Linked DNA regions of Homo sapiens: region 2 is linked to region 1. Evidence: promoter capture Hi-C in 16 types of primary human blood cells and fetal thymus (Javierre and others, 2016). All regions are on one chromosome and are shown on one strand. Each heading gives the region's core, a stretch centred on a gene start or on the middle of the fragment in contact. The rest is flanking DNA. Distances are from core to core; before and after follow the strand shown.

The links. Contacts are between HindIII fragments. The CHiCAGO score rates a contact against its expected background, and 5 or more counts as called.
Region 2: a fragment that was not itself captured here is called in contact with the fragment with the promoter of CCNA1 in region 1 in 2 of 17 cell types (M0 macrophages and M1 macrophages); the score reaches 5.2 in M0 macrophages.

Annotation. Positions count from the first base shown.
Region 1 is chr13:36,430,262-36,435,773 of GRCh38, forward strand. CCNA1 (cyclin A1) reads left to right here and starts at 2,234. Exons shown (of 9, transcript NM_001413923.1): 1 at 2,234-2,468; 2 at 2,772-2,960. The coding sequence starts at 2,796. RefSeq lists silencers at 1,538-1,607, 1,888-1,937, 1,968-2,127. The HindIII fragment of the contact is 15,627 bases long and covers 1-4,145 here.
Region 2 is chr13:35,991,388-35,996,899 of GRCh38, forward strand. All of the region lies in intron 3 of DCLK1 (doublecortin like kinase 1), which reads right to left. Among named protein-coding and RNA genes, the nearest start is that of DCLK1, 140 kb to the right of the region's middle. RefSeq lists an enhancer at 2,095-2,596. The HindIII fragment of the contact is 1,132 bases long and covers 1,842-2,973 here.

The DNA.
Region 1 (5,512 bases), core at 984-3,483:
CTTTTTTAAGGCTAAAGACGGCTGAAAGTCACTGGACACCTTTGTAGCCTTGTCATCTGGTCCTGGCCAGATCTGAGTTGAGAAAAACCAGCCTCAGATCCGCCTCTGCAGGAGTTGGGCGCTCCCCACTCCCTGCACGCCCCGACTCCAACACTGGCTTCAGCTTCAATCCCAGAAAAGTGGATCAAAACGACAGGTTCCACGAACAAACACTGCGCCGGCGCCTCTACTTTGGAGAAAAGGAAAAGGGCGTGAGGTTTCGGTCATTTTTGTCAAAGGAAATCAGATGAAAAGGGGTGTACAAAGGACCAGGTCTCGTGAGCGCAGCCAATCTTGTCCGCTCCCAAGCGACTCAGGCTCTTGGCAGGACTTGCTGTAGAGTCCCAGACGGAGTTAGCCACTGAGTCCTTCAGCGACCCAGGAAATAACAACACTGTTGGCAGGTGGGGGAGGGCGCCCGGGAAGATATCCAATAGTGGCGTCAGGCAAGAGGACAGAAATGCTCCTTTCATTCACCTTTCGAAGCAGAGCATTTGGTCCCCGTTGGCCTCTGACTCTCTGTTGCGGCAATCTAGATGTTACCAGAATTCCCGTGTTTCCTTCATATTCAAAGGCACAGGAAATCTGGGGTGCAAGCGGACTGCTGTCTCTCAAGGAATAGAAGTCTGTGACAAACGTATAGAAATGAGTTTCATGTTGAACAAGATCCGTTTCTGCGTTCCTCCCTCATCCAGCCTTGATTCTCCAGATGCTTACCAACTTCTTAATATTTACCTCAACTGCAAGGCTTTCAACCGGCGCTTTTGTTAGAATACTACTATCTTCCCATTAAAGCAATGTCCACACTCAGTTTGCTTGGTGAAAATGTTAATAACGCACACTTAGAAAAACGGTGATAACCGTTGCTTGCATAAAGTGGCCATTTGAATAGACTTTGGATCTGATTTAGAGATTTAGGGATGGATGTTTTAAAAAAAGCAAAAGTAGTAACAGACTATAGCATTGGTAATGTGTGTGTGCATATATACATATTATTTTTAAAAAAATAAAGTTCGATTATTTCACCTGGCTTGTCAGTCACCTATGCAGGCGTCTGAGCCCCCGGGTTTCCAGGAGCCCCCCGTATAAGGACCCCAGGGACTCCTCTCCCCACGCGGCCGGGCCGCCCGCCCGGCCCCCAGCCCGGAGAGCTGCCACCGACCCCCTCAACGTCCCAAGCCCCAGCTCTGTCGCCCGCGTTCCTTCCTCTTCCTGGGCCACAATCTTGGCTTTCCCGGGCCGGCTTCACGCAGTTGCGCAGGAGCCCGCGGGGGAAGACCTCTCGTGGGGACCTCGAGCACGACGTGCGACCCTAAATCCCCACATCTCCTCTGCCGCCTCGCAGGCCACATGCACCGGGAGCCGGGCGGGGCAGGCGCGGCCCGCAAGGACCCCCGCGATGGAGACGCAACACTGCCGCGACTGCACTTGGGGCAGCCCCGCCGCGTCCCAGCCGCCTCCCGGCAGGAAGCGTAGGTGTGTGAGCCGACCCGGAGCGAGCCGCGCCCTCGGGCCAGCGTGGGCAGGGCGCCGCAGCCTGCGCAGCCCCGAGGACCCCGCGTCGCTCTCCCGAGCCAGGGTTCTCAGGAGCGGGCCGCGCAGGAGACGTTAGAGGGGGTTGTTAGCGGCTGTTGGGAGAACGGGTCACGGAAACAGTCCCTTCCAAAGCCGGGGCCATCGTGGGGTGGGCGAGTCCGCCCTCCCAGGCCGGGGGCGCGGACCAGAGGGGACGTGTGCAGACGGCCGCGGTCAGCCCCACCTCGCCCGGGCGGAGACGCACAGCTGGAGCTGGAGGGCCGTCGCCCGTTGGGCCCTCAGGGGCCTGAACGCCCAGGGGTCGCGGCGAGTCCACCCGGAGCGAGTCAGGTGAGCAGGTCGCCATGGCGATGCGGCCCCGGAGAGCGCACGCCTGCCGCGGTCGGCATGGAAACGCTCCCGCTAGGTCCGGGGGCGCCGCTGATTGGCCGATTCAACAGACGCGGGTGGGCAGCTCAGCCGCATCGCTAAGCCCGGCCGCCTCCCAGGCTGGAATCCCTCGACACTTGGTCCTTCCCGCCCCGCCCTTCCGTGCCCTGCCCTTCCCTGCCCTTCCCCGCCCTGCCCCGCCCGGCCCGGCCCGGCCCTGCCCAACCCTGCCCCGCCCTGCCCCGCCCAGCCGGCCACCTCTTAACCGCGATCCTCCAGTGCACTTGCCAGTTGTTCCGGACACATAGAAAGATAACGACGGGAAGAGCGGGGCCCGCTTTGGGGTCCAGGCAGGTTTTGGGGCCTCCTGTCTGGTGGGAGGAGGCCGCAGCGCAGCACCCTGCTCGTCACTTGGGATGGAGACCGGCTTTCCCGCAATCATGTACCCTGGATCTTTTATTGGGGGCTGGGGAGAAGAGTATCTCAGCTGGGAAGGACCGGGGCTCCCAGATTTCGTCTTCCAGGTAACGTGGGTTTAGTATCCCGACTTGGAGGCTTGTCAGAATGTTTCTCTCCTTCCAGCCCAACACGAAGTCTTGGGATAAAAAGCCTCCCTCAGGGATTCAAATAACTGTTTTGATTCAGAGCAACTTTGATCGCCTGTGCGGTCGCACCTGCCCTTTCAGCCCCAATAATTACTGGGAAGATCAGCAATTGGTGTTAGTCCCATTGCTTGGTGCTCTCCCTCCTAGAGGTTCGCTGTGTCCTTGGAGCCCGGGGTGGACGGAATCGACTAAACAGCTTGTCTGTTTCTCTTTCCCTGGTAGCAGCAGCCCGTGGAGTCTGAAGCAATGCACTGCAGCAACCCCAAGAGTGGAGTTGTGCTGGCTACAGTGGCCCGAGGTCCCGATGCTTGTCAGATACTCACCAGAGCCCCGCTGGGCCAGGATCCCCCGCAGAGGACAGTGCTAGGGCTGCTAACTGCAAATGGGCAGTACAGGAGGACCTGTGGCCAGGTAATGACTCAGACGCATTGAGAATGATGCTTGTGGAGAACAGCTCTCCTGCTTTGGTGCCAGGTGCTTTTCTCTTGCCCTTGTACCTACAACTCCCCCTGAGTATTACAACCCTGGAATCTGGACTACAGGAAAGTTGATTGATTTATTTTCTTTCTTTCTTTCTTTCTTTCTTTCTTTCTTTCTTTCTTTCTTTCTTTCTTTCTTTCTTTCTTTCTTTCGTTCTTTCTTTCTTTCTTTTCTTTCTCTTTCTTTCCTTCTTTCTTTTTCTTTGTTTCTCTTCCTTCTTCCTTTCCTTTTTTTTTCTTTCCTTTCCTTTCCTTCTTTTTTTTTTTTTGAGACGGAGTTTCGCTCTTGTCGCCAGGCTGGAGTGCAGTGACGCGATCTCGGCTCACTGCAACCTCCACCTCCCGGGTTCAAGCGATTCTCCTGCCTCAGCCTCCCGAGTAGCTGGGATTTCAGGCACCCACCACCACGCCCGGCTAATTTTTGTGTTTTTAGTAGAGATGGGATTTCACCATGTTGGCCAGGCTGGTCACCAACTCCTGACCTCAGGTGACCCGCCCACCTCGGCCTCCCAAAGTGTTGGGATTACAGGCGTCAGCCACGGTGGCAGGCCAGTTGATTTCTTAAGATCACCTTGAGGGGTTCGGTTTTCAGCTAGAAATAGTGATTAGTTTTCTTTGTTATTTTTTCCACTATCAAGGAAATAGGTCTAGGAACTGTTTGGGTTATGTATATTAAAGTAATTTAAGGGCTGGGCTAAAAGGAAATGTGAATGCTTCCAAATAAACTGTGGAACTGGGGTTCCTCCAGGTTAGAGCAGTGTTCACATTGATGCAGGCTGTGCCTAAAGCAAACCTGGATAATCTTGGCTGTGTTCATTGCGGATAGTGTTAAAATCAGGATTAGATCAGGCTAGATTAGATTACTCCAAAATGGGTGCTTTGAAGGCAGACATCTTCCCAGTACTGACTAAGCAGCTATGCTAACAGGTAATGGTCCCTCAGATATTAGTTGTGTGAACTTAACTGATCATAGATACCTTAACCAGACTGAAAACTATACCTTTCCTATTTCATAAGTGAGAAAATCTGAAAGGTTTAAGCCTCTGCCAAAAGAAAGCTATGGTAGAAACTAGATTAGAAGCCTCTCATCTACTGACTCTTCACATGCTCTGTTCAAAGCTTTGGAGAAAATTGAGTGGAAGTGGTTTTAACAAATTTTAATTTGCTTAGCAATGTTTGCTTTTTAAAACTTAACGCCTGAGACTTGGTTCTTATGAATTGTCAGTTGTGCCTGTGTTGAATGGTCGCATTTTAAATTCCCAGTTGCTAACCTCTTATGTTACCTGGTGCCACTTCTGCATTTCCCTGTACCTATCCTCTACAACCTGCTTAGAAATCTATTTTGTACCTTCCCTTCTCTGTTTAATCCTCAGTAACCTCCTCCTTCATGCCCAGTCTCAGCTGATCACTTTGTATCTTATTTTCCTAAAAATATAGAAGCAAGCAGAAGAGAATCTCCACATGTCCCTGTGTGCCATATAATCTGCCATCTACATCCTGTTATGTGACTGCTATGTCCCTGCTGTCATGAGAGGTGCCCCCCCCCCCGCGCCATGCGTACAATATACTCGTGTCTTCTTGCTTCTTCAAGGATGTTACTCTAGCCACTTTTCTTTCTCTCATGAGTTTTTTCTTTTCTACTGGGCCAAATCTGTAAGCATACAAATATATTGCCATTTTCCCATCTTAAAAACCTTTCAACTAAACGCTCCCTCTGAGTATTACAACCCTGGAATCTGGACCACAGGGAAGAAGTTGACTTTGTAAAATCACCTTGACCGGTCCCTTTTTCAGCTAGAAATGGTGACGAATTTTCTTTGTTAGTTTTCCAATATCAAGGAAATAGGTCTAGGAGCTGTTTGCATTATGTCGATTAAAGTAATTTAAGTGCTTAAAGAAATTTAAGTAATGGGACAGAAGCTATCCCATTTAAAGCCACATATCTTGAGAGTTTGTCGTATCTTGACATATATAATGTTGCCTTTCCCACTAACATGTAAGCTCCATCCAGGTGTTGATTTAGGTTGTCATGTTCACTGTTGTGTGTCCATTACTTTGAACAGACCTGGGCCTGGCCAGGATGGCACACATTGTTTGTTGGATGAATGTTCTCTGTCTCTAGTTCTTTTCCTGCTCTATTTGGACTCAATTCATAGTCTTTTCCTTCCTCGACTGATCAGCATTATTTGACATGGCTGATCATTATTTTTTCCTTGAAATAATTTCTTCTCATTCAGCTTGTAGAACACCACTCTCTCCAAGTTTTCTACCTAGCTCATTGGCCACTGTTTGATATTCTAATTGTTACTTATATATATAGTCTGTACAAGTTAGAGTGCCCTAGGACCTAGTCTTTGATCTAAATCTTGCACTCACTCCCTTAGTAGCCTCTTAGTCTCCTAGCATTAAACACTCTCTATTTGGTGATGACTGATATTTCTATCTCTGGCCTGGGCCTCTGAGGTTTATTGCAGGCTCACATAT
Region 2 (5,512 bases), core at 1,158-3,657, 440 kb before region 1:
GTGGTGGCTCACATCTGTAATCCCAGCACTTTGGGAGGCTGAGGCTGAGGATCACTTGAGCCCAGGAGTTCGAGACCAGCCTGAGCAACATAATGAGACCTCACCTTTATGAAAAATTTAAAAAATTAGCCAGGTGTGGTGGTGCATGGCTGTGCATGCCCAGTTACTTGAGAGGCTGAGCTGGGAGGATCACTTGAGCCTAAGAGGTCGAGGCTGCAGTGAGCTGTGATCATACCACTGCACTAGAACCTGGGCAACAGACAGACCTTATCTCAAACAAACAACAACAACAACTTGTATTAAGTAAATTTGCATGCTTTTCTCTCATTAAACTATCTCTTGTTATAGGGGCCTCAGCTGTGAACCTAGGATGGAAGAGGAAAAGATTCTTCTCTTCCCCCCATTAGCAAATCCAGGTCTGATTCCAGATCATTTTGTGAGCTTGAAACTGCCTACCCTGTTCTAACCTCATATGACAAGTTACTCATCTATTTGGGGGTAATGCTAGGAAGATCTTATACACGGCATTGATCAAGCTTTTTCTAATGCCTGGAAAGTGCCACATAAATCACCTAAAATGTCAAATAAAAGCCTAAATGACATATTTAATTATAAAAATTATGTTTTATGATTACCCTGGCTCAGTAGATTTTGGTTTAATTGCCTCTCTGAAAAGTCCCAAGCTAACTGATAATTAATGAACAAATTCTTTTTGATCTATAATGAAATCATAGATTATAGGGGTTCCCACACTCATGCCTTCTAGTTCGCACTTCTTCCTTCTGAAAATCTCAATTTTTAACAGGTTGACAGACGTTCAATTCTGTTTTGAAACGCAAAGTAGTCTGAATCCACTTCAGAGACAAATGATCCCCTCGGATGTGGGAAAACATGCAAGGATTTGCTTTTGCAAGCCATAGTCTCACAAAGATGAGGAGTTCCTGACAGTACATCCAGGCTCACGTTTCAAAATGGAGAATTACAATGCAACATGTTGACAGTACTAGGATGTGGCTGCCATTCCTTACTTTGTTTGCTTCCTTCAAAAGAAAGTGCTTTTTTTTTTTTTAATGTTGGGGGCTTAAAAGAGGAGTGAAAGGTGAAACAAAGGGTTATACAGACAAGTTTTGTGCATTTCTAACTTTGCACTGGAAATCTACTCCTGACTTACTGCAGTCATCTTGAAGCTTAAAATCCAAGATCACTGGCCTTGCTGATTTTCCTTCTATCAATGACCACAAATGCCCCAGTCTCAAAACCCCAGCATCATTGTTGACCAGTATGATCATATGTTCAATTTGCCTAGGAAAGTCCCAGTTTGTGCCTGTTTTCCCACTGTCCTGACCAGTGTAGCATTTGTCTTGGAAAATGTCCTAGGTTGGACAATACATTTTATGATCACTCTATTTCTCCTCTTTCCCCTGAAAATCCTGATCCTTTTTCCTTTGTGTGACCTGGTCATTCATTCCTTTATTTTAATTCTACCACCTTTATGAACTGCACTGATATACTACTCCCCCATCAGTGATCTCCAGTCTCTAATCGATTATACACATGAAGCTACTGCTCTGAAGCCCTGGATATCTTCTCCTTATTTAATGGATTAAATCCAAATTCAGGCATTCAAGATTTTCACATCCTGGTCCTTTTGCTGTTTCTGCAGCCTTGCCTGCAATGTCTCCCTGATGTAATATGTGGGTCCAGCACAATTGCTTGCTCAGCCTCCTACGCACTGTCATATGCATCTGCTTCTGTGATACAGTTGCTCAAGCTGCTCTGCTCTCTTTTATCTAAGACCTACTCTCCTTTCAAGACCAACTCAACTCTCACTTCCTCCCGAAAGCTTTCTCTGCTGTCCCTGCCTTCGATCAATCACCTCTCCTACATGACGCTCCAGCAACAAGTAACCTCAAAACTACTGACTGAACACTTAGCACAGCCTACCTTGCATTCTTCTTTGTCTCTTTCATGCCTCAGTTCTGTCTCTCCAGGTAGACCTTAAACTCATCAAGAGCAAGGATCTTTTCTTATAATTTTTCTTATAATTTTCTTTCCTCCAACAGCCACCAAAATCTGCTGACAGAAGGCAGGAGGCAGCATAAAATACAGGAAAAGCACTGGACGTAGCATGATTTGTCTTAGACTTGCCACTTACTATCTGTGAAACTTGGGGAAAGGTTTACCTCTCATCCTCAGTTTCCGCATCTACACATTGGGGGATGAGGATGAAACCAGTACCTGCCGTGCCTTCATTACCAAGTGGTTGTGAGAATCAGGTAAAGTGAGTGTGTTCTGAATTACAAAGATTTACATACATGAGGAATTAGTTAACATTTTTTTGATGATGGTAATAACATCATCAAAGACATCTAGCCACAACTTAATCAGAACTACCTATCATATGGTGCTTCAGAGAATTCAAATTCAATTCCTTTCTCTGAACACTCATGAGAAAAAAAAAAAAAAGCTAGGATAAGTATCAGCCTTGAGGCTCCCATATTTCATTTCCTCTCTTCAAAGCCAAAGTCTTTAAAGACCTGAGTGTGGAATATGAAAGGCAGGAGTGAGGGAAAGTGACCAGTTAACATCTCTAGTCCTTCCAGCGTTTCAGACTCTTTCAAGTACTTTTCTCTCATCTGCAAAACATCCTTTTGAGATACTGGAACCAATACTATGAGCCCTTTGAAAAAAAGAAAAGGGGAAAAGTAACATGCAGCTTCCAAAAAAAAAAAAAAATCTAACATTTAGCAGGAGTAGGTTGGGGCATGGTGATTTTGGAATCAGTCACACTTTACAATTCCAGCTTCAGGCTTGACTGAAGTGTTCCAGGTGGGCAGCTCTTCTAGAACTTTCCCTGTAGCAGAAGTCTGTTCACTGATGGATGTTTGTGGCAGGAGCCAAGCGAATTAGTCAGATAAAATATAAGCGTGAAAACAGGAAAGTGGTTCTCCTGAAGTTTCTTTTCTAGCTGTAAGCTTCCACACCACAGAATAGTCAATCACATTACAGCCCACAAGAAAAACCTGAAAGAATCATGTTCAGCTGACCTCAAACCACATATTCTTAGCTAATAAAACATCCTTGCATCAGGTCTCAAGAACACAAACTCAAAGCTAATATAAGATAGCAATTCTGCAAGACAGTTTGCCCCTGGTAATTATACTAAAAATAAAAAAAAGGCAGCCAACTGGTGAGGTTGTCTGTTCTTTTTAGAAAAGATATTTCATGTTCCCTCAAGCTTCATTATCAGTGATTGGCTTGGATGAATGGGCGGCTTCCAACAGCTTTTACCCAAGGCCAGGCTTGACAAATGTGGCATGATTTTGGCAGTGCTCGGGCTCTGATTCAGTCTTCAAATGTCTGGCATGGAACATGAACTTCTGAACCTGACCTAAAGCTATTATGGGCTTTAAATTTTCAAGCAATTGCATCATTAAGCAACCAGCATGCGATGGCATTACTATCTTATCCACTGCCTAAATACCACAATGCATTTAAAGGAAGTTGACATAAATCAGCAATGAAAGGCACAGATGACGGCAATAAGAAATGGCCCATCATTAAGGTTCATTCAAAAGCATACAGGTTGGAACTGCAGCACATTCAATTTTAAAATGCAGATATGACACAAATTCAGAAAGCTATGAAGAGCAATTTGTGAATTTTCACCAAATAGCATATGCTCTGAGAAATTTTTGTCTAAGTGTTCTCCAAGGTAGCTTTGTAGTGGTGGAGTTTCTTCCTTTTCTTTCTTAAACCTCTGCTCCAAGAAGAGACAAAGCATCCACATTCAATTATAAGAGTTTTCTTTTTCACCTCAAATTACCAATATTCCCTCATCTTTTCCAATATCATATTGTAAAGATACAATCCAAATGCCTGTGTCTACAAGGATTCAGTGGAGGAAATGACTTAACATTTGAGTGAACTAAGTTCACTTTATTACGAAATCTAATTCTATCCGTTTTCAATATACTAGTTAGTATGGGGCAATATTTTTAATGGGCCACACCAAAATATAATAAAAGGAATGTAAACAGATCAGAGGACAAAGACAAGGAAACCAATCTGGTAGTTTTATTAGCAAAACCAGAAAGAATAAGAACATTTTACTTTCATATAAATGTTCCTTTGTCTTCTTTCATTTTTACTGAGGCCAATTCAAATGTTGAGGAACAATCTGGGAGGCTCTTCAGTTTCAATGATGATTAACAGAAAATTACCATTCTGAATGGAAATTTCACCTCTTCCCAACTCATTAGAATACACTGGCTTTTCTGACTAAATCACAGGTGAGCAAATAATAGAAGACTGCTTATTTTTAGCAGCAGGCTGTGAGAGACAACCTCAAAAAAGATAAACTAACCCACGTACGTGAGATCACACGTTTTTACCATAAATCTTTGTTTCCTGGCTGTTCTTATAAATGCAAATCTAGCAGAAATGTTACAAACATAAGCAATAAGATTACAACAGTTTTCCTAAAATATCTTCTATATTAGGCTTTACTTAAGGCCAACAATATTTTCATCTATTTTAATTTTATTATTTCTTTTTTTTAATTTTTTGAGATGGAGTTTCATTCACTCTTGTTGCCCAGGCTGGAGTTAAATATTATGCAATCTCCGCCTCCCAGGTTCAAGTGATTCTCCTGCCTCAGCCTCCCAAGCATCTGGGATTACAGGTGCCCACCACCACGCCCAGTTAATTTTTGTATTTTTAGTAGAGACGGGGCTTCACCATGTTGGTCATGCTGGTTGCAAACTCCTGACCTCAGGGGATCTACCCGCCTCGGCCTCCCAAAATGCTAAGATTCTAGGCGTAAGCCACTGCACCCTGCCAACCTATTTTAGTTGTAAATAAAATCATCAGTGCTTTAAGAAGGAGAGATAGATTAAGGCCTCCCGTCTTCATCATTCGCTTCAGTGTGCTGGTATTGCAAACAGCACCATGTGCAATGCCCATTCCCACTTGAGGTGGTCAATTTTATGTGTCAACTTGGCTGGGCCACGGGGCCCAGGTATGTAGTCAAGCACTATTCTGCACATTTCTTTGAGGGTGTTTTTAGATGAGATTAACATTTAAATTGCTAAATTTGAGCAAAGCAGACTGCCCTCTGTAATGCAGGTGGGCCTCATCTATTGGTTGACAGCTTGAATAGAACAAAAGGCTGACCTCCACAAGCAGGAGGCCATTCTAGCAGATTTGAACTGCAACATCAGCTCTTCCTGAGTCTCCAGCTTGCCAGCCCTCCCTGAGTATTTTGAACTTGCCTGTCTCGATGTTCACGTGAGTTCCTTAAAACAAATCTCTTTCCATATATATATATACACACAACCTATTGGTTCTGTTTCTATGGAGAACCCTGATTAATACACCACTTATCTGAAGGGTATTATCCACTCTGTGCATCATCTTTTATACATGCTTTGCTTTCATCCATATGGACAGCATAACTTTATTTTTGCCCATTTAATACTGAGAGTGAGCATTCGACCTGTTGGCCACAAAG